Regions from separate parts of the Homo sapiens genome. Here regions 1, 2, 3, 4, 5 and 7 are each linked to region 6. The links are contacts of gene promoters, found by promoter capture Hi-C in blood cells and fetal thymus (Javierre and others, 2016). All regions are on one chromosome and are shown on one strand. The core of a region is centred on a gene start or on the middle of the fragment in contact, and the rest is flanking DNA. Distances in the headings are between cores, read along the strand shown. Region 1 overlaps MEGF9 (multiple EGF like domains 9). Region 2 overlaps MEGF9 (multiple EGF like domains 9). Region 3 overlaps MEGF9 (multiple EGF like domains 9). Region 4 overlaps MEGF9 (multiple EGF like domains 9). Region 5 overlaps CDK5RAP2 (CDK5 regulatory subunit associated protein 2). Region 6 holds the start of CNTRL (centriolin). Region 7 overlaps MEGF9 (multiple EGF like domains 9).

Evidence for each region. The method cuts DNA at HindIII sites, captures the fragments that hold promoters and counts their contacts. A CHiCAGO score of 5 or more calls a contact.
Region 1: a contact is called between a fragment that was not itself captured here and the fragment with the promoter of CNTRL in region 6, in 1 of 17 cell types (monocytes). The highest score is 6.1, in monocytes.
Region 2: a fragment that was not itself captured here is called in contact with the fragment with the promoter of CNTRL in region 6 in 10 of 17 cell types (non-activated CD4 T cells, total CD8 T cells, naive CD4 T cells and 7 more); the score reaches 9.9 in non-activated CD4 T cells.
Region 3: a contact is called between a fragment that was not itself captured here and the fragment with the promoter of CNTRL in region 6, in 12 of 17 cell types (monocytes, erythroblasts, neutrophils and 9 more). The highest score is 11.1, in monocytes.
Region 4: a contact is called between a fragment that was not itself captured here and the fragment with the promoter of CNTRL in region 6, in 10 of 17 cell types (naive CD8 T cells, non-activated CD4 T cells, total CD4 T cells and 7 more). The highest score is 9.1, in naive CD8 T cells.
Region 5: a fragment that was not itself captured here is called in contact with the fragment with the promoter of CNTRL in region 6 in 8 of 17 cell types (activated CD4 T cells, erythroblasts, naive CD8 T cells and 5 more); the score reaches 7.2 in activated CD4 T cells.
Region 7: a fragment that was not itself captured here is called in contact with the fragment with the promoter of CNTRL in region 6 in 10 of 17 cell types (total CD4 T cells, naive CD4 T cells, non-activated CD4 T cells and 7 more); the score reaches 13.3 in total CD4 T cells.

The regions. Positions count from the first base shown.
Region 1 is chr9:120,599,123-120,602,863 of GRCh38, reverse strand. It overlaps MEGF9 (multiple EGF like domains 9), which reads left to right. Exons shown (of 6, transcript NM_001080497.3): 6 at 1-2,053. Among named protein-coding and RNA genes, the nearest start is that of CDK5RAP2, 21 kb to the right of the region's middle. The HindIII fragment of the contact is 7,657 bases long and covers 1-3,741 here.
Region 2 is chr9:120,622,581-120,626,078 of GRCh38, reverse strand. MEGF9 (multiple EGF like domains 9) reads left to right here. Exons shown (of 6, transcript NM_001080497.3): 3 at 3,324-3,463. Among named protein-coding and RNA genes, the nearest start is that of CDK5RAP2, 44 kb to the right of the region's middle. The HindIII fragment of the contact is 2,372 bases long and covers 193-2,564 here.
Region 3 is chr9:120,657,637-120,661,592 of GRCh38, reverse strand. It overlaps MEGF9 (multiple EGF like domains 9), which reads left to right. Exons shown (of 6, transcript NM_001080497.3): 2 at 2,018-2,219. Among named protein-coding and RNA genes, the nearest start is that of MEGF9, 55 kb to the left of the region's middle. The HindIII fragment of the contact is 2,106 bases long and covers 557-2,662 here.
Region 4 is chr9:120,640,114-120,643,614 of GRCh38, reverse strand. All of the region lies in intron 2 of MEGF9 (multiple EGF like domains 9), which reads left to right. Among named protein-coding and RNA genes, the nearest start is that of CDK5RAP2, 62 kb to the right of the region's middle. The HindIII fragment of the contact is 4,292 bases long and covers 1-3,501 here.
Region 5 is chr9:120,572,687-120,576,407 of GRCh38, reverse strand. The region is part of intron 1 of CDK5RAP2 (CDK5 regulatory subunit associated protein 2); the gene reads left to right. Among named protein-coding and RNA genes, the nearest start is that of CDK5RAP2, 5.6 kb to the left of the region's middle. The HindIII fragment of the contact is 1,838 bases long and covers 464-2,301 here.
Region 6 is chr9:121,072,866-121,076,650 of GRCh38, reverse strand. CNTRL (centriolin) reads right to left here and starts at 1,696. Exons shown (of 44, transcript NM_007018.6): 1 at 1,584-1,696. It also overlaps a transcript of C5 not described here. RefSeq lists silencers at 1,292-1,431, 1,552-1,611, 2,236-2,432 and an enhancer at 1,732-2,121. The HindIII fragment of the contact is 4,047 bases long and covers 724-3,785 here.
Region 7 is chr9:120,698,608-120,702,355 of GRCh38, reverse strand. All of the region lies in intron 1 of MEGF9 (multiple EGF like domains 9), which reads left to right. Among named protein-coding and RNA genes, the nearest start is that of MEGF9, 14 kb to the left of the region's middle. The HindIII fragment of the contact is 3,030 bases long and covers 1-3,015 here.

The DNA.
Region 1 (3,741 bases), core at 861-3,360, 470 kb after region 6:
CTAGCAGTTGCTGCATATGTGTGTACAGACTGCACAATTCTAAGAAATTGTGCAAAATGGCATACCTGTCTTTCTCCCAGATACACCGCCCCCTGCCCCCCCCAAAAAAGGTCAGGATTAAAGGTGGTGAGAAGTGAACATTTATTAAACAGAAGTTAAACCAATAGAGAGAAAGGAGGTTTGTTGGAGTCTAAGAGGATTTTGACCATGTAGAAATTCCTTGAAACAGACCTTAAAAGGTATTGAAAAATTGAATCACAAAGAAAGTTTACCTTTAAATACTTGTTAATGGCTCCTAGATCATGGTTATAATTTTTCTCAATGGGAAAAAAAGTCTTAAAATTTGTTTTAAATAAGATCCTCTAATGTCTCGAGCTTTTTGATTCTGGAAATAATTTGCTTTAAAATATAAATCAATCAGAAAGTGATCTACCACTGAAATCATTCTAGGAAACTAGCATGGGATGCACTGCACAATGTTCTTTCCTCTAAAGGCATGGGCCCCATAAACTGTGGCATCTGGCAGCAGGATGCCATCAGTCCTTTAGAAAGCCTAATTTTGGGCCGGGTGCGGTGGCTCACGCCTGTAATCCCAGCACTTTGGGAGGCCGAGGCGGGTGGATCACAAGGTCAGGAGTTCGAGACCAGCCTGGTCAACATGGCGAAATCCCGTCTCTACTAAAAACACAAAAATTAGCCGGGTGTACGTGCCTGTAGTCTCAGCTACTTGGGAGGCTGAGGCAGGAGAATCACTTGAACCTGGGAGGCAGAGGTTACAGTGAGCCGAGATGGCGCCATTTCACTCCAGCCTGGGCGACAGAGCAAGACTCTGTCTCAAAAAAAAGGAAGAAAAAGAAAGCCTAATATTGGGAGAATGTTTGTGTAAGGATTGGAAATCTGTTTATTTTTAAATAAGATAGCACTGATGTGAATCTTATTTGGAAATTACAGATACTGCCATTAAGCGATGCTTTTATCTTCATTAATTCATTTTGGTAAGCGCCTATGCATTTCTGATGGTTAGGTGCCCTAGGTAGTGTTAAGTATGTCCGTGTCCTCCCTTACTCCCCTCTCGCTCCCTCTACCCTCTATCCCCTAGGGTTCTTTTATTAATGGAATTTCTCCAGTTATAGAGAAAAAAATGACATTTGAAAACTAAAGCTCATTTATATTAATACTAAGGTCCTGTGGGCCTAGTGCGTTACTCTTCCCAGTGATACCTAGATTTTAAGAGTAGAGAACAGAGGAAACATGGGATGAGAGGAGAGAGGTTTTTTAGACAACATTTGTAGACACCTCAAATTATATCACTGTTCTCTAGCGCCAATATTCCCAGGTAAATTGACCATTAAAGCAATACTCACTGACCTACTAGTTTATTTTGGTCAGCTGAGTACCATCAGGATATTTAACCCTTTAAGTGCTGTTTTGGGAGTAGAAAACTAAAGCAACAATACTTCCTCTTGACAGCTTTGATTGGAATGGGGTTATTAGATCATTCACCTTGGTCCTACACTTTTTAGGATGCTTGGTGAACATAACACCACTTATAATGAACATCCCTGGTTCCTATATTTTGGGCTATGTGGGTAGGAATTGTTACTTGTTACTGCAGCAGCAGCCCTAGAAAGTAAGCCCAGGGCTTCAGATCTAAGTTAGTCCAAAAGCTAAATGATTTAAAGTCAAGTTGTAATGCTAGGCATAAGCACTCTATAATACATTAAATTATAGGCCGAGCAATTAGGGAATGTTTCTGAAACATTAAACTTGTATTTATGTCACTAAAATTCTAACACAAACTTAAAAAATGTGTCTCATACATATGCTGTACTAGGCTTCATCATGCATTTCTAAATTTGTGTATGATTTGAATATATGAAAGAATTTATACAAGAGTGTTATTTAAAATTATTAAAAATAAATGTATATAATTTGTACCTATTGTAGATTTGTTGTTTACTTTTTTGTGTGGTCAGAGTTGTTTCATGTCTTCAAATACATGCCAAGGATCATTTACTTTCAGCCCACTTCATAAAAATCTTTGAACTCTTCATTTATTGGCCATGTATTTTGTTTAAGTTCATTTAAAGAATGTTTTCTACTTGGGGGGAAAAAAATCCATGAAGAAGATTCCCTCTCTTAGAGGAAAACAAAACCTGAGAAGAAAATATATTAACATATATTTTTGTTTGTGCTTTTGCCTATTCCCTCTGACATCCGTCGGATTTTATAGAGAAAACTTGCTCGCTTTGGATTTCTTTGTCACACATATAAAGAATTTCCTTTCTTTGGTAGAAATCTGAAGAGAAACCATATTCTACCTGTTTATTAAGTAACTTGTAATGAGAGTACATCTTTTTAATATTTTAAGCTACTCTTGAAGAACCTGTATTTTGACAAAGCTAGATGGTGTTTAATGGGATGCCATCTGAGAGATTCCTTTATTTGAAAAAAAAGAAAAAGTCAGGCATTTCTTTGTGCTGAGAGCTTTATAAACTTAAACTGTTTTATTCAACTTCAGTTGGTTAACATTTAAATTTTTAAACTCTATTTTTTCTTTTCTAGCCACACAAGAAAACAGGTTTTATCACTTTATAATAACACCTTATGTTTATACATGTGGTTCTGTGATGTATATGAATTGGGTATTAAGGGAAAAGAATAAGCATGGCAGAAATCTAAACAAATTACAGTTTCAAGAGAAAGTATATATATACAAACAAGTAAGGACATTTGCGAGGTTGCATTATCAAAACTGGTTGTATTCATTTTCCATAGGAGTATAAAACATCTATGTTTTAAAAAAATTCCACATGCTCCATTATAATTAAGTCAGTAACTTCAAAGTAACAGTGTGCTTACTTATATTTTAAAAGTTAAGCTGAATTGGCCGGGCGCGGTGGCTCACGCTTGTAATCCCAGCACTTTGGGAGGCCGATGCGGGTGGATCACGAGGTCAGGAGATCGAGACCATCCTGGCTAACACGGTGAAACCCCGTCTCTACTAAAAATACAAAAAAATTAGCCGGGCGTGGTGGTGGGCGCCTGTAGTCCCAGCTACTCGGGAGGCTGAGGCAGGAGAATGGCGTGAACCCGGGAGGCAGAGCTTGCAGTGAGCCGAGATTGCGCCACTGCACTCCCGCCTCGGCCACAGAGCGAGACTTCGTCTCAAAAAAAAAAAAAAAAGTTAAGCTGAATTAAAAACGTTTTTCATGAGATGATAGCATTAGGAGTGTTGACAGGCTGAAAATCAACATTCTATCTAAATCAATGTTAAAATTGCAGTTTTACCTATAAGTTAGTCTTTCAAGGCAATTTTATGAGGAATTATTGTAGTAATTGTACAGGCTTTCTAGTACTTCCGTGTACAAAATGAAAGCCATCAGACAATGTTAAATTTACAATGTGCTGCTTGTTTGTATTAATAATAAGTAGATTTTAAACCTTGTCTGTTGAATGGAACACTGCACTTCAAACAGTTGCAAAAGAAAACAGGCAAAATGTTTTCTTTGTATGTAATAAGAGTAGGTTTGGGTAATAAAAGAAGTATTTGGGAGGAAATCTTCTTTTGTGGTTTCCTTTGTGTTGTTAGACAAACTGCTGAAATTGTATATGTCAGTATTGGTTCTTTCAATCTTTGACCCAAAGAAGGAAAAGTCTCAGCTCTTGCCACGTTAATTACTATTCCAATTCAACCATGTTAAACTCATACAATTTCCTACATATGCCAGGTTATATGAT
Region 2 (3,498 bases), core at 129-2,628, 450 kb after region 6:
GTTCTTTCATTTCAAATCTATGGATAAGCATAAGTGGTCTGTTCACAGCCTTTTTTTTTTCTTTTTTGGTTTCATTGCATTTATATCATTGACCTTTGCTTCAGAAAGCATTCAAGTCTTTAACAGAGAGAGACCATGAAAGGGAGTGTTGTAAAGTCTTTATTCTACGAAGGAAGTCACACAGGCAAAGCTTTATATTTGCTGAGTGATTTCTTTTCTTTCTTTTTTTTTTTTTTTTTTTTTTTGTGAGACAGAGTCTTGCTGTCACCCAGGCTGGAGTGCAGTGGCGCAATCTTGGCTCACCACAACCTCCACCTCACAGGTTCAAGCGATTCTCCTGCCTCAGCCTCCCGAGTAGCTGGGACTACAGGTGTGTGCCACCATGCCCTGCTAATTTTTGTATTTTTAGTAGAGACGAGGTTTCACTATGTTGGCCAGGCTGGTCTCGAACTCCTGCCCTCGTGATCCACTCGCCTCAGCCTCCGAAAGTGCTAGGATTACAGGCATGAGCCACTGCACCTGGCCGATTTAAATCTTTTTTTTAAGAGACAGAGTCTCCCTGTGTCGCCCAGGCTGGAGTACAGTGGCTATTCACAGGCCCGATCATGGCACACTCAGCTCAAGAGGATGGCTTCAATTCCCTGTGATGTCATTTCCTGCCTAACCAGTCAGCACTTCTGGCTCCCTGGTTTCACCCCACCCACCAAGTTGTCCTTAAAAACCCTAATCCCTGAATACTTAGGGAAACTGATTTGAGTAATAATAAAGCTCTGGTCTCCTGCACAGCTGGCTCTGCATGAATTACTCTTTCTGTATTGCAATTCCCCCATCTTGATAAATCAGCTCTGCCTAGGCAGTGGGCAAGGTGAACCCATTGGGTGGTTGCAGGATTAGTCTCCTGTGTTTCTTGGTCTGTGGGGCTTTATGAGAGACAGGTTTAATTTGAGATAAGTGGACCCAGCTGTTTATTCCTGTTTAACTGCAGTTGGAGTAGTTCAGGCAGCCTAGAACTCCTGGGCTCAAGTGATCTTCCTGCCTCAGCCTCCTGAGTAGCTGGGACTATAGGCATGTGCCACCATGCCTGATAAATTTAATTCTTATACATGCAGAAATTGGCCTTGGGCCATGAATAACATGATGCAAAAGCACTAGTAGTGCAGCCTCACAACCAAAATTCCTCACTTCATTTTTTTTTTTTTTTTTTTTGAGACGGAGTCTCACTCTGTCACCCAAGCTGGAATGCAGTGATATGATCTTGGCTCACTGCACCCTCCGTCTTCTGGGTTCAAGCAGTTCTCCTGCTTCAGCCTCCCAGGTAGCTGGAACTACAGGCACACACCACCACTCTGACTAATTTTTGTATTTTTGGTAGAGACGGGGTTTCACCATGTTGGCCAGGCTGATCACTGGTCTTGAACTTGTGACCTCAAGTGACCCACCCACCTCAGCCTCCCAAAGTGCTGGGATAAAGGTGTGAGCCACCACGCCCGGCCTATATTTTCTTTTAAAAGAGAGAAAAGCACCTTTTTTTTTCTTGTTGTTTTAAAATCTGGCCATGCATGGTGTCTCATACCTGTAATGCTAGCACTTTCGGAGGCCAAGGCAGACGGATTGCTTGAGCTCAGGAGTTTGAGACCAGCCTGGGCAACAGGGGAAAACCCTGTCTCCACAAAAAATACAAAAATTAGCCGGATGTGGTGGCGCATACCTGTAGTCCCAGCTACTTGAGGGGCTGAGGCAGAAGGACCACCTGAACCCAGGAAGTTGAGGCTGCAGTGAGCCGAAATCACGCCACTGCAGCCTAGGGGACTAAATGAGACCCTTTCTCAAAAAACAAAAACGAACAAAAATCACCCAGGAAAAAATAAAGCATGGTATGTACACTCAGACAACTACTTTATCAAGATTCATTAAGTCACTTTAAATCAGCAATTAAGGAGCAGATCCTCCAGATAGAAAGTCTTTTAGTGCCCCAAGAATTATTAAGGGAAAACCCACTTCAGGAATAGCAACTACTTTGGGAACATTGGCTATATTATGGTTACACAATATTATTAAGTGATTTTGTGTTCGAAACTAATACCTTCTTCTTGTAGGTTGTGGGTTAGGCAAACACCATCATTGAAAGTAACTGTTTATCCTTTTGTATATTGAATAACATATTTAGAGGAATGAGGAGTAAGCATATTTTGATTAACATTTTAAAAGCCTTGGAAATAAGCTGATGAAGTGTTGTAAGCCATTCTTTGAAAGGTACATTATGTTCTTTATAATTTTCTGATAGTATAGAGTGGCTTCGATTGACTGGTTCCTTCTTATTGAGTCATAAAATATTCCTGAATTTTATTTTTTATGAATACAGGTTTTCTTTGCTAGATCTTTAAGTACCTTGGGATATTCTTGTGTAAGACCGTATATGTGTGTGGCTTCTTTTCTTTTTTCTTTACTAAATTACTTAAGATTCATAGATTCATGCTTGATAGTATAAATTAGATAATGTAAATTTTTGTTGCATTTTTAAAAACATCTCCTATACTATGATCAGTACAAATTTTATTTAAGCTTTAAACATCAAAATATTTGGGCTTCTATCTCTGAGAACCTTTGACTTTGTTAGGCTGCAGCTTCTCTTCAAGCAATAAGATTTCTCAGCCTTTGTTAAAGACCTGAAATTTACTTGCAGTGAGAAAAGAGAGCAAGATTTATTGTGGACAGGGCATAAACACCATCACTGGAGTCAGGACCTATATAGATGGTGAATTGTAATGCTTTGGATCTACAGAATGAAGCTTGATACCTAAGTGGATATCAAGTTATTTGGCAGACAAATTTCTTGTACCAATTTAGAGTCAATCTTAGGAGTAGATAGTATGGTGGGGAAAAGTCTGGCTTTGTATGAATAGACTTGACTTACTAGCTGAGGACAGTAACTTTATCTGAATTTTCTCAGTAGTAAAATAAGTATTATGACCCTCACCAGGTAGAACTACCTTGAGGATTAGAGAAAAAATATATTTATTGACATAAGCCCTCAATAAATGATAGCTCATTGCATCATCATTATTACTCCTGCTTTCAAATGCCTCCATTTTAAATTTTCTGTAAAATTATTTGTTAGCTAAGAAATTGCATTATGCAATACACTAGACAGCTTTTAATAGCAATACAGAATTTGATAGGTGATTTATTTGGACACAAGGCTTTGAGATATGGTAAGTATATATGATTTACATGAGCTGGGCTTTCTTTCCCTTCTGGGGTGTTACTCAATACAACTTTTAAATTGATTTACTTTTATTCATTGTCTTTGCTTTTATTTGCAGTTCTGGGAAATGCCAGTGCAAAGTGGGTGTCATTGGCTCTATATGTGACCGATGCCAAGATGGATATTATGGCTTTAGTAAGAATGGCTGCTTGCCCTGCCAATGCAATAATCGGTCTGCCAGTTGCGATGCCCTCACAGGTACGTACTTTCCTTAACTTTGTCATGTAATTATT
Region 3 (3,956 bases), core at 360-2,859, 410 kb after region 6:
CAAGTTTGAAATAGACATAAAATAAACAAATAAGCTGCCAATATTTATTTATTTATTTTACGTTAATTATTTTTTATGAGACAGGTCTCACTCTGTCACCCAGGTGGGGGTGCAGTGGCAAGATCTTGGCTCACTGTAACCTCAGCCTCCCAGGCTCAAGCGATCCTCCCACCTCAGCCTCCCGAGTAGCGAGGACTACAGGCCCATGCCAGGATGCCCGCCTAATTTTTGTATTTTTTTTGGTAGAGACGTGGTTTCACTATGTTGCCCAGGCTGGTCTCAAACTCCTGAGCTCAAGTGATCTGCCCACCTTGGCCTCCTAAAGTGCTAGGATTACAGGCATGAGCCACTGCCTGGTCTATTTATTTGTTATTTGTTATCTTTACAAACTAGAAGAGCTGTGAAGAGCAGGGAAATAAAGTGACACCAAAGGTTAGGAACTGCAGAAGTGTGGGAGGTATAGAGTTGGCCAAGTGGGAATTTCTTTGAGGAATCTTTTGTTTTGACTTGTGTGGATAAATAAGCTGCTTGTGATTACATAAAGAATTTTGAAGCTTAATTTCCTTTTCTAGAATGGAGAAGCAAACCCCTTTACAACTCTCTTTTTAAGAGTCTGGATTTGTAGTTGTCTAGTAGCTTTTTGAAGTCATCAAAAATAGTATCAAAGATTATTTTTTCCAAGCTAAACTGTGTTGGTACAGTGCCATTTTATATAGTGCCTTACCTATTTAGAACTGTAATTTGTACCATAGATTTCTCAGGACCCTTTAAGGGTAGGATCATAGCTATTTTGGAATGGGACCTATTCCTAGGATACATATGTTAATACAAAGTCCTCTGTTACTGCTGTGTCAAACTATGTTGAAAACACTTTCCTTTTGATAAAATGAATAGAGGCAGTAGCAAAAAATGAATCCTAACTGACCTTTAAATGAGTCTTTGCATTAGAAGGCTAAAACTAAGGGCTTCTCAATATTTTTATCCAAAGAACTGTCTGACTGCGAAGAATAGTGGACAGGGGTGTGGTGGGGAGGAAGTGGGGATGGTTAATGGGTACAAAAAAAAATAGAAAGAATGAATAAGACCTAGTATTTGATAGCACAGCAGATAGACTGTGGTCAATAATTTAGTAATTTATGGACAGTAATTTAATTGTACATGTTAAAATAACTAAAGGAGTATAATTGGATTGTTTGTAACACAAAGGATAAATGCTTAAGGTGATGGACACACCGTTTATCCTGATATGATTATTACACATTGCATGCCTATGTCAGAATACCTCAGGTACCCCATAAATATATACACCTTATACACCTATGTACTCACAAAAATTAAAAATTAAAGTATTTCTTTCGAAAAGTGAAAAAAGTGAAACCAACAAACAAACAACAAAGAACTGTTTGAAATATACTTAAAAGAAATGTTTATTTTCCAAATATTTTAATTTGGGAAAGACATTCAACTCACAGATCAGGATGAACCTGTAAACTTTCTCCTCTGGTTTTATTGTTCATCATTTCCTTACTTTAAAGTTTCTATTCTTCATTAATTTCTTCCTGGGCAGAACACATTAGCTTATGATTCTAGCTATGGCACAATCTAGTATGACCTTGAATCGGTTGCCAAAGTTAATCATCTGAGCCTTAGGCTTTTGCTGCTATACAGTGGGATTATTTATTATTTAACATGTTGTCATTTCCAACATGTGCCCTTAGTGCCATGTAGATAAGCCTGCCTTTGGTGGCTTCTAATTCAGAAAAACTAATAATACACACACACACACACACACACACACACACACTGTCACACACACACTACATAATTTATGTACTCTATATGTTTCCTGATTTAAGTAAACTAAACGGGATAGAAAGTAAATTTGAACTAGAGTTAATTTTATCTATCCTTACAAAGTTGTCATGAAAATTTATTAAGAAAAATAAAATAGAGTTCATTTTATTAAGAGGGCATTAAATCTTAGTTGGTAATGTCTCTTTCCTTCTTTCCTTTGCAGAGTATGTATGTAACTGCTCTGTGGTTGGAAGCCTGAATGTGAATCGCTGCAACCAGACCACAGGGCAGTGTGAGTGTCGGCCAGGTTATCAGGGGCTTCACTGTGAAACCTGCAAAGAGGGCTTTTACCTAAATTACACTTCTGGGCTCTGTCAGCCATGTGACTGTAGTCCACATGGAGCTCTCAGCATACCGTGCAACAGGTAAGCAACAGAGGGTGGAACTGAAGTTTATTTTATTTTAGCAAGGGGAAAAAAAAGGCTGCTACTCTCAAGGACCATACTGGTTTAAACAAAGGGGGATGAGGGTCATAGATTTACAAAATATTTTATATACTTTTATTCTCTTACTTTATATGTTATATTTAATGTCAGGATTTAAAAACATCTAATTTACTGATTTAGTTCTTCAAAAGCACTAGAGTCGCCAATTTTTCTCTGGGATAATTTCTGTAAATTTCATGGGAAAAAATTATTGAAGAATAAATCTGCTTTCTGGAAGGGCTTTCAGGCATGAAACCTGCTAGGAGGTTTAGAAATGTTCTTATGTTTATTAATATACCATTGGAGTTTGAGGAAATTTGTTGTTTGGTTTATTTTTCTCTCTAATCAAAATTCTACATTTGTTTCTTTGGACATCTAAAGCTTAACCTGGGGGTACCCTAATTTATTTAACTAGTGGTAAGTAGACTGGTTTTACTCTATTTACCAGTACATTTTTGAGACCAAAAGTAGATTAAGCAGGAATTATCTTTAAACTATTATGTTATTTGGAGGTAATTTAATCTAGTGGAATAATGTACTGTTATCTAAGCATTTGCCTTGTACTGCACTGAAAGTAATTATTCTTTGACCTTATGTGAGGCACTTGGCTTTTTGTGGACCCCAAGTCAAAAAACTGAAGAGACAGTATTAAATAATGAAAAAAATAATGACAGGTTATACTCAGTGTAACCTGGGTATAACCCAAGATCTGCTGCCACTTAGGAGCTGTGTTCCTTGGGCAAGTAATTTCCTTTCACTGAGCTTGTTTCTTCTCAAGGTTGTTGTGAAGATTAAATGAGTTGATATATATAAAATGCCTAGCACATGTCACTCAATAAATTCTGGTTTGTTTTAATTTCAAAGGAATATTATGGACTGAAATGAGAGAACATGTTTTAAGAACTTTTAGCTCCTTGACAAAGAAGTGCTTTATACTTTAGCACTAAATATTTTAAATGCTTTATAAATGATATTATACTGTTATGGAATATTGTATCATATTGTAGTTTATTAAAAATGTAGAAGAGGCTGGGCGCGGTGGCTCACGCCTGTAATCCTAGCACTTTGGGAGGCCAAGGCGGGTGGATCACTTGAGGCCAGGAGTTCTAGATGAGCCTGGCCAGCACAGTGAAACCCCGTCTCTACTAAAAATACAAACAAATTAGCTGGGCGTGGTGGCACACACCTGTAGTCCCAGCTACTCGGGAGGCTGAGGCAGGAGAATCGGTTGAACCCGGGAGGTGGAGGTTGCAGTGAGCTGAGATCGCGCCACTGCACTCCAGCCTGGTGAGAGAGGGAGACTCTGTCTTAAAAAAAAAAAAAGTAGAAGAGAACTTCATTAAGAAGTTTATAATTTCAAATGCAGCAATAATCAATGCTTCTGATGCTTAATATTTTAAAATAGTTATTTGTCTTAATTTTCACAGCAACTCCTTATATATAGGTTACTAGGTCACAAAGATAGTAAGTGCCAGAGAAAGAATTCCAAATTAGGTCTTCAATTCCAAGTCCAGTGTCTTCACTACCATAGCATACCGTAGCATGTAGATTCTATAATGAGAAAACTGATAATCACTCTATTCTTTGAGATTGAGAATAGAGTGGTAGCTTAACGCTGTTCCCTCCACTCCCCCTAAAACATGCTCATACAAGTTAGATTCAGAAGTTTCACATTGC
Region 4 (3,501 bases), core at 272-2,771, 430 kb after region 6:
AAATAGAAAGTTAATAAAATTGTTATTTGAAGCAGTCATTCAAGGGAGTATAGACAGTATTATTTATTTGAGGGCAAAGTTGGTCCTTATGGTAATTCTTAGCCTTAAGTACAGAAGAGAAATTAGGATAAGGAAATAAACTTACTTTGTTGACCTGCCATTTTAGATGTATGACATTGTGGTTAGAATGTACAATCAAATTCATAGCCTATTTTAATGTTCTTTTTTCTCTGCAGTTTAAAATGAATAGCTTCTAAGACTCATGTTAGTAGACTTAGGCTAAAATAGAAGGCCTCTTGTTCCCACAGAGAAGGCTTTGTCTTCCTCTCTATTCCCTGAAAGAAAATTAAATCAGCATGACTTTTTCCATCTCAGATTTTTTTTTTTTCATAGCAAGAAATATGTTTCCTAGAGGATGGAGATAAATATGGGACTGTTCAGCTTTTTTTCCTCCCTGGATGTGATTTCTTCTCAAAATACCTAAATTTGTCAATCCTAGAGGGAGACTTGGACTTGAAGTTTCTTTAGATTTTCCATAAAAAGGGACACAAATGCTTCAGCCATGATTATTTTGACATAGTATATAGGACTAGTTTAAAAATTATAAATTCCATTATTATGGCTTTGTGTAGATTAAATGAATATTCTGGTGTGATATATTTTGTGTGTTTCAACAATTTGGGGTTTTCAATTTAGTTTTTCAGTTTGGGGTTTTCTACATACACTACAGAAGGAACATAGGCATGTTTCTCACATTGCCAAAAGCAGTAATGCAAGTATGGCTTATATTGTCAATAACAAAATCTCTTCCTTCTCTTTTGCCAGTTTCCAACACATATACCATGACCATTACTTTAATTAAGTTTTACTTTTGCTGGCCTTGAATTGATTTTCAAAGGGTTCTGCAATTGAATAGAATGTCCATTAAAACAGATATTGTGGATATTTGAAGGAAACATTTTTACAGAGAAATATATTAGCTTTCTTGACTAACATGTTCACCGAAAGAAGCTGCATAATCCAGGAGAGGCAGCAGGAGGAACAGAAGGAAATTAACATTCATTGAACACTTTAAACCTCCATTCTTGATGTTTTACACATAAAACCTCTCTGACTTCTCAGACAACTCATCCATTTTGTTCTTAGCAGCTAAATTACTTAGCGACATGGCATAACTAATAAATGGCAGAACTTAGATTTGAGCCCAGATCTGTCCGGCTCCAAGTCTCTTCCCACTGTACCCTGAAATAGAATAGGCAAAATTAGATATGGCAGTGTGAGCATCTCAATGTAAGTGCAAGGCTAGCTGTGGGTGAGTATGACTCATCAGTTTAGGTACTGGCCTATGGAAATATAAATCTAGAAATCAGACCTGGGCTACAATGAAAATAAATACTGAACAGAAGGCAACAATAAAAATTGTTAAGAGTATACATACAGAATCATTGGAAAGGAAAAGGCAGGAATTAGGGCATTAGAAATATTTAAAGCTAGGTCTGTGGTTTGGGTGTCAGAACATCTGACTTGCTTGGGTTTAAGTTAAAAGGCAGGCATTTGATATGTGAGAAGTCTGAAAGCAAGTGTCATGGACCTAGTCATTGTGGTGGAAAGTGGAGAGGCAGGGCCACTGAGACCAGGAGCCAGGCATTGAGAAACTAGGGACAATAGTTGTAATTAATCATTAGGAATATAGGGGACTGAGGACAAAGGAACCAGTAGCAAATGGGACTTGACAGACCGCTGAGGTTGATTGCCTTAAGTACCCTCTTCTTAGGTTAGAATTGATACCAAATTCAGGGTTCATCACTATGCCTGGAAGTGGAAAGTAAGTAGCTTTACCAGTCAGGGATAGGGATATAAAAAATAGAGTGAAATAAGTACAGTTAATTTAGTAGAGTAGTTCTCTAATTATGGTCCCCAGACCAGCAATATCAGTTTAACCTGGAAATTGCTTAGAAATGCAAATTCCTAGGCCCAACACCAGACCTATTGAATAAAAAAGTCTGGGATAGGGCCCAAGAATCAGCATGCTAAAGTTTCAGAACCACTGATCTATGTTGGTGGCTCTGAGTGTGTTGTCCTCAAAACCTAAGGTCAACTTATGCAGATGCAAACTAGAACTAAGAAAGAAGGGTTTTTTTTGAGGCATTTCAACCTCTATTCTTTGTTTTTATGAGAATTGTATAAGCTAAAGAGGCCCTATTCAGTAGGGTCATGATGGAATATTGGGGTTGAGCAAAATGGATTTTTCTTTGAGGGCTAGGACTTTTTCTTTCTATCTGCTCTTCTTTATCTTACTTTAATGAACAAACCTGAGGGATCACTGTCTTACAAGGTTGATTGGCCTATCATGGGCTAGTCATTGAATGTCTCATTTTGCTCACCTAGAATGAATATTCTATTTCCAAGATTCTAAGAGGTTTATTTAAGTGTGACATAAAGTGTCAAGATTAAGTGCATGCTATTCACAATAGCAAAGACATGGAATTAATCCTGATGTCCATAAATTGTAGAATGGATAAAGAAAATGTGGTACATATACACCATGGAATACTATGCAGCTGTAAAAAAGAACAAAATCATATCTGTTGCAGCAACATGGATACAGATGGAGGCCATTATCCTCGGCAAGTTAATGCAGGAACAGAAAACCAAATACCACATGTTCTCACTTATAAGTGGGATCTAAACATTGAGTACACATGGACATAAAGATGGGAACAGTAGACACTGGGGACTACTAGAAGGGGGAGGGTGGGCGGGGGGTAAAGGGTTGAAAAACTACCTATTGGGTACTACCTGGGTGATGGGATCATTCATACACCAGACCTCAGCAACACAGTTTACTCATGTAACCAACCTGCATATGTAGCCCCTGAAAAAAGTCGATAAAAGTCTAAAGAAGAATAATAAAATTTTAAAAAAGATTAAGTACATGGAAAATATTAAATGGACTGAAATGAAAATAAATATTGCGCTTAGAAGTCATCAAGAGTTAATGAAGAAAGCACACATAGACTTTGGAGCCAGATTATGCAATCATTAAACAAAGTTTGCATGCCTATCACATGCCAGGCACTGTGCTAGGCACTGGGAATATAGCAGAGGAAAAAACACATAAAACCCCCCTGATTCCACAGAACTGACATTCTAGATGGGAAGAGAGATAATAAACAAGAAAATAAAATTTATGGTATATTAAATAGTAAGAAATATTACAATTTCAGATAGTGTGGCTAGGCAAGATATGTTGAGAATATGACATTAGAATAAGGAACAAAAAGAAGTAATAGAGCATGCCATGCGGATCCCCTGTGGAAAAGTATTGCCAATAGAGAGAACAGCAAGTAGAGTCCCTGATGCAGGAAGATGCCTGATGTATTTGAGCAACAGCAAAGTCATTGTGGCTGAAGTGGTATAAATTGGGAACAGGAGTTAGGGGGTAGTATGTAAAGCAAAATATATACACAGATATCCAGAATACCATTCTTTTGATTTATC
Region 5 (3,721 bases), core at 133-2,632, 500 kb after region 6:
TGATTACATGTTAATGGCTACTGATGTGTTGAGCATCTTTCCATGTGCCTTTTAGCCATTTGTTCACTTTCTTTGGAGAAATGTGTATTCAAATCCATCGTCCATTTAAAAAACGTGAATATATTTTGACCCAGCAATTCCACTTCTTGTCATCTATTCTAGAGAAATCCTCATACTTGTGCATATGGGACCTTATAAGGACATTCATATGACATTGCATGTAAAAGAAAAACTTGGAAACAAATTGAATTATCATCAGTAGGGGATTGGGTAAATACACATCCTTTCAAAAGTATCTTTCAGACTGTGGCCCGTTGGTAGCTCATGAAATTCAATTTAGTAGGTTGCAACCAGGATTTAGAAAAATAGAACAGAATAGAAAACATTTCAAGGATGAAGGGTAATAATATTTCTTCTGTGGCTCATGGTCAGTAAGGTTTGAAGAACACTGCTGTAGAAAGCTTTGTAGGAGTTGAAAACTTTGAGGCATATCTATTTGTACTGTCATGAAAACATCATGAGGGCATATTAAGTAGAAGAAGGATGTTGTAGCATGATGTATACTGTTTGATTGCATGTGTTTTTAAGCAGCAAAATTGAAACTATCTATGTAAAAACACATAAAAAGTTCTGGAAGTTATAGGTCTTTTTGAAAACAGTGATTACCTCCTAGGCGGGTTCTAGATGGGAGCGAGGAGGAGCCAAGGAGAACTTTAGGCTTATCTGTATTTTTTTAAATTTATGTATTTTTCTCTAATTAAGAATAAAATAGAATGAAAAAGGGGTTGTTAAAAGACAAAAGTGAGTTTGTTTGTGTAATCGTTGTCAGAATGTGATATCTGGTCTCATCCATGACTCTCATGAAACAATTTGTCAAGGAGACATAAGACCCCTTGGGTCTTATGGTTTGAGTGGACAATTGTTGCTGGCATATGTAGGCATAGAAAGAGGTCAGTCCTTTTCGGTAGCAATAGAGCAAGATAGGAGGATGAGGTGGTGGAGCTCAGGTGAAGGTCCATTCAGTCACTCAAAAATTATCCACAAACAGTTGCTACAGCTGGGCGCGGTGGCTCACGCCTGTAATCCTAGCACTTTGGGAGGCTGAGGCGGTCAGGTCACCTGAGCTCAGGAGTTCAAGACCAGCCTGGCCAACGTGGTGAATCTCCATCTCTACTAAAAGTACAAAAAATTAGCCGGGCGTGGTGGTGCATGCCTGTAATCCTAGCTACTTGGGAGGCTGAGGCACGAGAATCGCTTGAATATGGAAGGTGGAGGTTGCAATGAGCTGAGATCACGCCACTGCACTCCAGCCTGGGCGATAGAGTGAGAGTCTCCAAAAAACCAAAACAAAACAAAACAGTCGTTATGATGGCTGTGCCCTGTGCTGAGTGATGGAAATTTTATGCCTCAGTCCATTCGGCCCTTAACCACCACCACACCCCTGCCACCCCCAACCTCCGGGAAGGCGTCAGGGGTACCAGGGTGGTGTAGGTTCACAGCAGGGGGTTTAAAGTCAGGCTGGCTTGGAGTTTCCAGCCTATTAACTTTTTGGTCTTTGTTTCCTCATTAAAAAAAAAAAAAAAAAAGGCAACATTAAAAAGTACCACCAGCCGCAGAAAGACTATAGTGAGGATTAAACCTGATTTTAGTTTCAAACATTCAGTTTAGAAAATGGACTTTAATCCTGTGGTGAGGATGAAAGGGAAGGCTGCCTGTCCTGTGCTGAGTGTGGTGCTTGTGCAGCATGGGTGCCCCATACAAGGGCAGGTTTCTTAGATTGTGCTTTATTTTGCACGTGAGGAAACTGGTACTCCACCATGTGTCACATTTATATAGGAGCTTTGGGCAGTCCACACACAGGCTAGCAAGTGGAAAAGACACTGGGATCCTGGATTTTGGGCTTGGCTTTGCCACTAACTTTTGTGATTTTGAGTAAATAAGTTCCTAACCCATTTCTGGGTTTCAGTCTTCTCATCTGTGGAATAAGATCATATCTGAGCCCTTTTGTTTTGCTTACATTGTCATTTCTCGTGAGTATCCCTGAGGCCCCAGCCTTAATTATAAGGCTACAAGTGAATGATTAGAATGGAAAGAGGGAGCTGCTTGTGGCTGGAGGTGTAGTTGGAACTGACTGGAGGGTGCAGATGACAGATTCATAGCATTTTAAAAGTGGGTAGGTAAAGCCCGAGTGGAAATTTGGCAGGATCCAAGCAAAAATTTCTGCATTACATAGTGGTTTTGTCTAAGAGTTGGGATGTCAGATGTCATTTTTCAAACTTCAGTGTTTGCCTGTAGGAAGCTTGTCTAAGACCAGAATCTTTGGCTTTGTTTGCTAGGTACTTTTCAGCTGTGATTGATCTTGGCTTGAGTTATTCATGGGCAGTTTTAGCCAGTGGGAGTTAATGTAATGGCTCTGGTACCCGGAGAGAACCCCAGATTGAGAATGCAGGACCAGACCTTAGGCTGAGCTTGGCCAATAACCTGGTGTATGTGACCTTGGGCTTCTGGACCACCATCTGCAAAAGGTGATGGTTGAACTTGATTTTAGTTTTTAAAATTCAGTTTAGAAAATTGACTTTGTCCTTTTAGTGATGTTTATTGGAGGAAATTGAGAATTATATAACATTAAAAAGGAAGAAAACCTCTCATTTCCCTACTAATGATGATTTTTAATATTTCAGTATATTTCCTTTGTCTTGTTATATATCTGTAGCCCACCTATTTCCAAAATGGACTTGAGGTGACTTCAGTATTTATGTACTGTATATATTTGTTTTCATAATTGAGGACATATTCTGTTTACGTTTTTTCATTTACCTTTACAGGGGACACTTTTTTTTTTAAATTTTTTTTTTTTTTGAGATGGAGTCTCACTCTATCACCCAGGCTTGAGTGCAGTGGCATGATCTCAGCTCACTTCAACCTCTGCCTCCTGGGTTCAAGTGATTCTCCTGCCTCAGCCTCTCAAGTAGCTAGGACTACAGGCACCTGCCACAATGCCCGGCTAATTTTTGTATTTTTATTAGAGATGGGGTTTTACCATGTTGGCCAGGCTGGTCTCGAACTCCTGATCTCAAGTGATGCACCAGCCTTGGCCTCCCAAAATACTGGGATTATAGGCATGAGTCACTGCACCCAGCCCGGACACATTTTTTTGTGATCATTTTCTTAATGTTGGAATTTTATGATATTTCCAATTTTTTGCCTGTTTTTGATCTTGAAGGTACATTCCAACTCCAAAGTTTGGTGGTCAGGCAAAATTATCCTAGGAGCACAATGAATTTGGATTTAGAGGCATGGAAAGAGCAAATTGCCAAGAAGTCAAGCTGTTTCCATCAACTCCTACTTTACAGTGTGGGATAGGGAAGTATTCGTGGGAGTTGGACATAAAAGACCTGGCTTCTGGACCTGGCTCTCCACAGAACCGCCATGTGACCCTGGCTAGGACAGTAAAATTGTCTGGGCCTTGGGGCCTTCCTTTGAAAAATGTGTGCACCCTCAGGGAATTAGGCAATTCTAATGATGGTAAATCTTTTATAAATTGTAAAGCACTGTAGGTTTCAAGGCGACATGATATTTTGCTCCCATTTGTGGAGTACCCACAAGGTACCTTGCAATATCTTGTTTAATTGCCAGTTACTCTGTGAGGTAGCTGCTGTACTCATTTTACAGCTAAAGAAAGTGAGGCTCAGAGAGATACATGGCAGAGCTTAGAATAGAT
Region 6 (3,785 bases), core at 447-2,946:
TCCCTAACACAGTAATAGTCTCCCCCATTTCTCTATGGTTCTTTCCTGTGCCCAGACTCAACATTTCTCTATCCATCCAGACTTCCCAAGCTGCTCATCTCTCTTCACCCCAGAAAATACCCTGACATCCTAATGCGTTCCAATACTCTGACCTCCAATTACTCCCCTCCCTAAACAAAATACTCAAACCTCCATCCATTCCTCTTCATCCCAACCCAACTGCCTGCCTATTTGCCTTTCCATCCTAATACTCTAGCCCCCGTATCCTTCTCCATCCTATTAAAAGCCTGAATCCCCTCTCCCATCTCTCTTCTTCTGCTCAGATACCCTAAAACTCAAGCTTCCCATCTCTTTCCATTAATTATTCAATTTTATTGAGCAACTTTTATGTAGGAAGAACCATGCTAGAATCTAAGCTCAAGATGCAGAAGATTTTATCTCCCTATTACCCATGATCTCTGCACCAAGCAGTCTCCTTCATAGCATTTTATAACCATTATTTGTGAAACTACTTGGTTGTTGCCTGTTTCTCCTTCTAGACTATAAGCTACAAGAGAGCAGAGGTTTTGTCTGTTGTTCTATAAACAATAAATATTTGTTGACTGAAGGACTGTACTAAACACTTAGACAATACCAAATTTAAATCCTCAAAGATTTAGCTGTATAGGATCAGAATTATTAACCTGATTTACAAATGGCAATGTACCTGAACAGTTAAAAGCTTGGATTCTGGAACGAAACAGCCTGAGTTCAAATTCTGATTTTCCACTTACTGTGTGATCTTAGGCAAATTACTTAACCTCTCTGGTCCTCAGTGCTATCACTTTTTAAATGGGGATGATAACCTCATACAAGTTATTTTAAATTCTAAATGAGGTTAATACGTGCAAAGTGCTTAAAACTGGATCTGACAAATAGTGAACACCCAAAAATGATTCGCAATTATTTGGACAAATGAGGAAACATGATCAGGAAGGCTCAGACACATATCCAGGGTCACAGACCTGGTTAAGTTACACAAGGTGGCAGAATTGAGGCTTCAACCCAAGTTTGTCTGGCTTCAAAATTCTCTAGTCCCTTAACGAATATAACGGAAGTGTTTGTTCTTCCCCTTCTTTTAGCATTTCGTCCCCATATCCTGTCATCTTTCTCCACGCACTGTACTCCGTCCGATACCGTGACAACCCGTCAGGACGCCCAAACTGTCCTTTCTCCCGCTCACTCCCCACAGACAGCTGGCACATCCCAGCTCTCCCCTCAGCTCAGGTGGCAGGACCCACAACCTTCTGGGCGCCGCACCCTAACTTCCACACCTCCCCACACTCTGGTTCTTCATCCCCAATCGCCCCCGCCGTCCCCACCTCTTCCCATCCAAACCTCCCTCCTTCATCCACCGCCCCACGCCCGTTCCGGGCCCTCCCCTCTTTCCCGTCCAATCCCAATTCCCAGACACGCGCCCCCGCCCCGAATCCATCCCAAGCCGGCCCACACCACGCCCGGTCCGGGCCTTCCCGCCTTTGCCGCCGGCCCCCACTGCTCGGGCCGGATGCCGGGGAACGGGCTCGGCCAGGTCTGACGCTCACCGCCTAGAAGCCGAGCCGAGCAGTCCCGCAGGCTGAGGTAGAGCGGGAGAAGTTCGGGCTCTTTCCTCAGGGGCCCAGCGGCGCGGCAGCCATTTTGTTGTGTTGTGCCGGTTGCCGAGGGGCCGCGCGCGCGTGGTCGGGGCTAGTCTCAGCCACGCCCCTCTCCCTCTCCGGTACTGTTGGAAGGGACGCGGAGGCGTTTCCCGCCTCTTTTGCAGCCAGCGCGCTAGGATGCCGGGGAGTCTTGGGCGCGAGGCTTCCGGCCGCGCGGGGCCGACGGGATGCGGTGCCTTCGCCTTCGGATTGCGTTGCAGGTGAAGTGTCGGGTGCAGAGTCAGGGGGAGCCGAGGTTTCATGCGGCAGCTGCCCGCAGTGCTGTGGCCTTCGCTGAGACAAAGCTGCCGCCGCCACCCTCTGAAACACGGACACGCTTCTCAGGGCCTGTGTCCGAGGACGGCCTGAGGCACCGGCGCAGCGCCTCCCCGGCCTCCCCCACTTCTGATGCTTGCGCGCTATGAGCGAGTGTTCTTATCAGCACACTTCTCTCTGACAGTCGTATCTAAAGCGAATTCCCTCCAGGGACCGAACTGCCCAGGCTCGGATGAACCTCAAAGCGGACGCAGCCTGGGCTCCAGCTGTCGCGTGAGGTTCAGGGAGCTTGGGAATCCTAGGCAGAGGATGTTCCTCTGATTGCTACAAGGGAGTTAAAGCAAGAAGCACTTGCACAGGCTTCATCTGGGGCTTGCCCATGAGCACGGCGTTCACGACATGCATTCAACAGATATTTTAAAGAATTTAGCAGATACTGGGCTGGATGCTAGGGAAACACTGAAGTTTTTTTTAAAGTGTTATCACCATTGACGCCTTTCACTCCAGTAGCCTCCCGTTTTGAAGGTATACCCTGGACCATGTTACCATCAGAGGCTGCACCCGCTCCAGAAATCCCCAGTGCAATCGCTCCCCATCCTTGACTATAATCCTATCATCTTAGCAGCGTGCCTGCTCAAAAGACCCCTATGCCAGCGTATTTCTAAACTTCCTTGCGTCTTCCAGTCCCTTGTTCTTACCATTTTCTCGCGATCATTCTATCCTGTCTTCATTTCCTTTCTTCACTACAGAGTTTATAGGCCACCTGTATAACACTTTTAGAAACTCCCTCTCTCTCTGTGTCTCAGTTTCCTTATCTATGAAATGAGGTCCTTTTACCTATTAACACTTCCTACAGTTTTCCTGATAATTATAAAAGTGAATCCTGGCCGGGCGCTGTGGCTCATGCCTGTAATCCCAGCACTTTGGGAGACCAAGGTGGGAGGATCACTTGAGGTCAGGAATTCAAGATCAGCCTGGCCAACAAGGTGAAACGCCGTCTCTACTAAAAATACAAAAATTACCCGGGCGTGGTGGCGCACGCTTGTCATCCCAGCTGCTTGAGAGGCTGCAGGAGGATCGCTTGAACCCGGGAGGCGGAGGTTGCAGTGAGCCGAGATCGCGCCACTGCACTCCAGCCTGGACGACAGAGCGAGACTCCATCTCAAAAAAAAAAAAAAAAAAAAAAAGTCCAGTTTTCCTGATAATTATAAAAGTGAATCTCTGTGAAAGAACTTAGAACAGTGAGGGACCCATAGTAAGTTCTCAATATGTCTTAGATATTTCATTATTAGACAAAGGTTACCCAGAAGCAATACTTCTTTCTACGCCCAAAAGAAGAGTTTAGGCAAGGAGTAGGGAGGTGGGGAAGAATTTGCTTGGCAAAGGGAACAACTTGTGCAAACCCCGGAAGCGGGGGAAAAGAGCTTGGCAATGTGCTGAATGTTAAGTAATTCAGTGTGGCTGGAACAAAACATGAGTATGGAAACATGAAGTAGTTCAGTATGGCTTGTGCAAAAATCTGGGGTGGAGAAGCTAAATCTGGAAAAGGGACCATATTATAAGCAGTATTAGGCACTTCATTTTTCCTTAAGGCAGAGATGGCTTCACCTCTATAGGAAATTCAGGGGACGTCCAACAGGGAATAAGCTGCAATAAACATGGGGATGCAGATGTGTCTTTGATTTACTTTGATTTACTGATTTCCTTTTCCTTTTACTTAAATGTGATTCCCATTGACATTTAAGTGAATGGTGCTGTCCTCTCCCCAACTATTTACACGACACAGAACGAAGCCCTTGGAGTTTAAACGCAGAATTTTTGAAAAGCTCCACT
Region 7 (3,748 bases), core at 251-2,750, 370 kb after region 6:
TATATAAGATCAAGTCAGATGATATTACCCAGGGCCACTTAACTATAATTTCTGTCATTGACTAAGCAAGTTTGATCTATATCAGGGTATTTGTTTAGTCTAAGTGAGTCAGGGTTTTGAATAAAGGAGACTATTCATGCAGACTGACAAATCTTGAACATACAGTAGGAATGACATATCTAAGATTTGGTACCTTTAGGCAAAATTTAACTGAGACCTTCAGCAGAGGCTGAAAATTGAGAGCTGGCTCTTTCTCCATTTCATTTTGTCTAGGTAATTTTTTTAATTAATTAATTTTTTATTTTTTTTTTTAGAGACAGAGTCTTGCTCTGTCGCCTAGGCTGGAGAGCAGTGGCGTGATCTCGGCTCACTGCAAGCTCCGCCTCCCGGGTTCACGCTATTCGCCTGCCTCAGCCTCCCAAGTAGCTGGGACTACAGGCGCCGGCCACCACACCTGGCTAATTTTTGTATTTTTAGTAGAGACGGGGTTTCAGCATATTAGCCAGGATGGTCTCGATCTCCTGACCTCGTGATCCGCCCGCCTTGGCCTCCCAAAGTGCTAGGATTACAGGCGTGAGCCACTGCTCCCCACCTTGTCTAGGTAATTTAAAGCATTCACTTGAACATTACTTAAAGTAGCTTATTGAAATAGATCTTGTTTAGATTGTGCAAAATTTGAATTCATGGCATTGTTCATAGTCTTTATCAATATATTTGATTATTTCTTCTTTAAAGTTACTGAGCCTCCAAAAGTTTGGTTTCAGTCTGTCCATATGTTTTCCAATTAGATCAGACGGGATTGCTGTTATACTGGTAATATAACAGCTGTTCTATATGATACCTTGCCAGGGAGACAGCTAAGCATTAAGGGAAGGGAAAATTTATTCATTTGGAAAAAGGAATACATTCTGCCTAGTCATAGGGAAAAAGATAAGGAGTAGGAATGTTGTCAGCCTGGCTGGAGAATGTTAAATAACCTTTATTTACTAAATTTTAGACCCTTTAGATAACTGAGTCTGAAAACTTATTTCAGTCTTACATGCTTCCAAGAAACTGGCATATTATCACAGATCTTATTAGATTTTTATCATTTATTTTTAATAATCTAGTGCTTTTACTTGATACATGTGAGCAAAAAGAAGAGATGAGAAGTAGTAGCATTGTTAACTACAAGGAGGATATCATATTTCCTACTCCTTTTTAATTTTGGAAATTGTTTTTTTTTTTTCTTTTTTTTGAGACAGGGTCACACTCTGTCACCCAGCCTGGAGTGCAGTGGCGTGATTGTGGCTCACGGTAGCCTTGACCTCCCGGGTTCAAATGATCCACTCACCTCAGCCTCCCAAGTAGCTGGGACTACAGGCGTGCACCACCATGCCCGGCTAATTTTTTTTAAACTAATTTTTTAAATTAATTATTATTATTATTATTATTTTTGGTAGAGACAGGGTTTCACCACGTTGTCCAGGCTGGTCTCGAATTCCTGGGCTCAAGCCATCTGCCCACCTCAGCCTCCCAAGTGTTGAGTTTACAGGCGTGAGCCACCGTGCCTGGCCTGGAAACGGTCTTTAAAGATGAAATTTCTTTAAAAATATTCTAGGAAAAGTGTAGATGTTATTCACTCTGAAGGAAATTGGATAACTTGAATAGATTTTTAGATTCTCTTAAGTCCTATTAATCATTATAGGGATTGGGAAGGGTTATTGGAAATAACGGGGGGGGAAGGACTTGCATTCCAATATATTTATCCTGTTGTGTTTGTTTATTGAGTCTTGATGAGAGGAAGGCATTGGGCTTTTTCTGCTGTAGATTTTTCATGTGATTTTATATTTATTGTAATCCTACAGTGTGTTTTATCAGTTCTATATGAATAGCACTAACATTATAGTCCCACCATCTATTGATGTTATGTGAGTTATTGAATAGTTATAAAGTGTACCAAAAACCCAAAGCAATCTAGTTGTTGGGTATTATTATACTGAATTGTTGGTGTATTGCCTGCAAACCTATCCTGTTCAACTGGTTTTAGTTTTTAAGTTAGTTTGTTGCTTCAACTTGTCCGCAAAGGCAGGGCTGGATGGTCCAGCTAATCAGTAGAATCGAAGTCAGAAGAACTAAATTCTAGTCTTTCTATTCACTTTTTGAGTTATTGAGTATATTTTTTGATGACTCTATGACTCAGTTTCCCAGACTATAAAATGAAACTTCCAGTCACCAAAGGTTTTTGAGAAGTAACACATGTAAACTACTTTGGGCTTTCTCAGACATAAAGGCTTTAATATTCTTTCCAAGTTACATGGTTTATATTAGCTTATAATGGAATGTGACCAAGATAGCTTTGATTAAACACAACAAAGAAATAAACACATTCATTTATATATGGCTTCTTTACACAAAATATATTTTTATGCTATTTTGTAGTTGACATATTTGTATAATTTAACAATTATGGTGTTTTCCAAAGGTTTGAGGTCCTTTAGTATTATTTTTCTTCCCCACTACCTTGAGAAAACAAAATAATCTTTATCTCATATTAAACTCACAACATATATAAGTTGTGCTTTATGTAATATTATTTTTGGTTGATCTGTTTAGAATGGGTTCTACTTACTTTTTTTTTTTTTTTTTTTTAAGAAACACGGTCTCACTCTTTCACCCGGGTTAGAGTGCAGTAGTGTGATTGTAGCTCACTGCAGCCTCGAACTCCTGGGCTCAGGTGATCCTCCCATATCAGCCTCCTGAGTAGTTGGGACTACAGGCATGTGCCACCATGCTCAGCTAATTTAAAAAAAAAAAAAATTGTAGACATGCAGTCTCGCTATATTGCCCAGGCTGATACTATACTCCTGGCTTCAAACAATCTTCCTATCGCAGCCTCACAAAGTGTTGGCATTACAGGTGTGAGCCACTGCACCTGGCCAGTTTTTTTACAATTATAAAAATAATCTATGTTCATTTTCTACAATAAACATTGTAGAAAATGAAAAATAGAGAAAAAAGCTGTCCCATAAAGCTTTTTTAAAATCACTGATTGAGTTTAATATTTTATTACTGCATATATTGCTTCATTTCTCATGATAATAAATGAGATCACTTGCTTGTTATGAAAACAGAGGTGCAAGTAGGATTTAACAGTCTTCTGAAGACCAATATAAGACAGATCAAAATGTGAAAAAATTCACCACATTTAAATTATTTATCATGTCACCAAAAAGAAAGTAAATCTATTTTGATCTAAGACCCCATATGATGCTTTACTTGAGACTTGGTACTCCCTGGCAGAATCAAGTCAGTGACTGTTTTTCTTGTGTCTGATCCAGCACAAACATGATTTGTCTTTGGTTCACGTGGCCCCTGAAAGCCCAAAGCAGCCTGGAACAAAGCCAGACATTTGGTATTTTTCAATACTGTGATGAGAGAAGACAAGGTGCCCATCTGCCTGGCTTGTACGTTGCCAAAAGGCCTAGGTGCTACCCTAAAGAATATGCCAGAGAATGACTCTGGCCTTTAGGAAACTGGTAATGATTACTCTTCTCTGAATTTTGAACTTTGAAATCCAAGCAGTAATGAATCATAGTGTTATTGAGAGGGGATTAAATTGATCAATGCATGTAAAACCCTTAATTCAGCAGTGCTTAATAGTCAGCACATACATTAATAATCAGCACATAGTAAACACTCAAAACAGTTTTTGAAAAACAGGGATTTTTCAAAGACAGCAGTGAGAACTTTGTCTGTTAATTCTGGA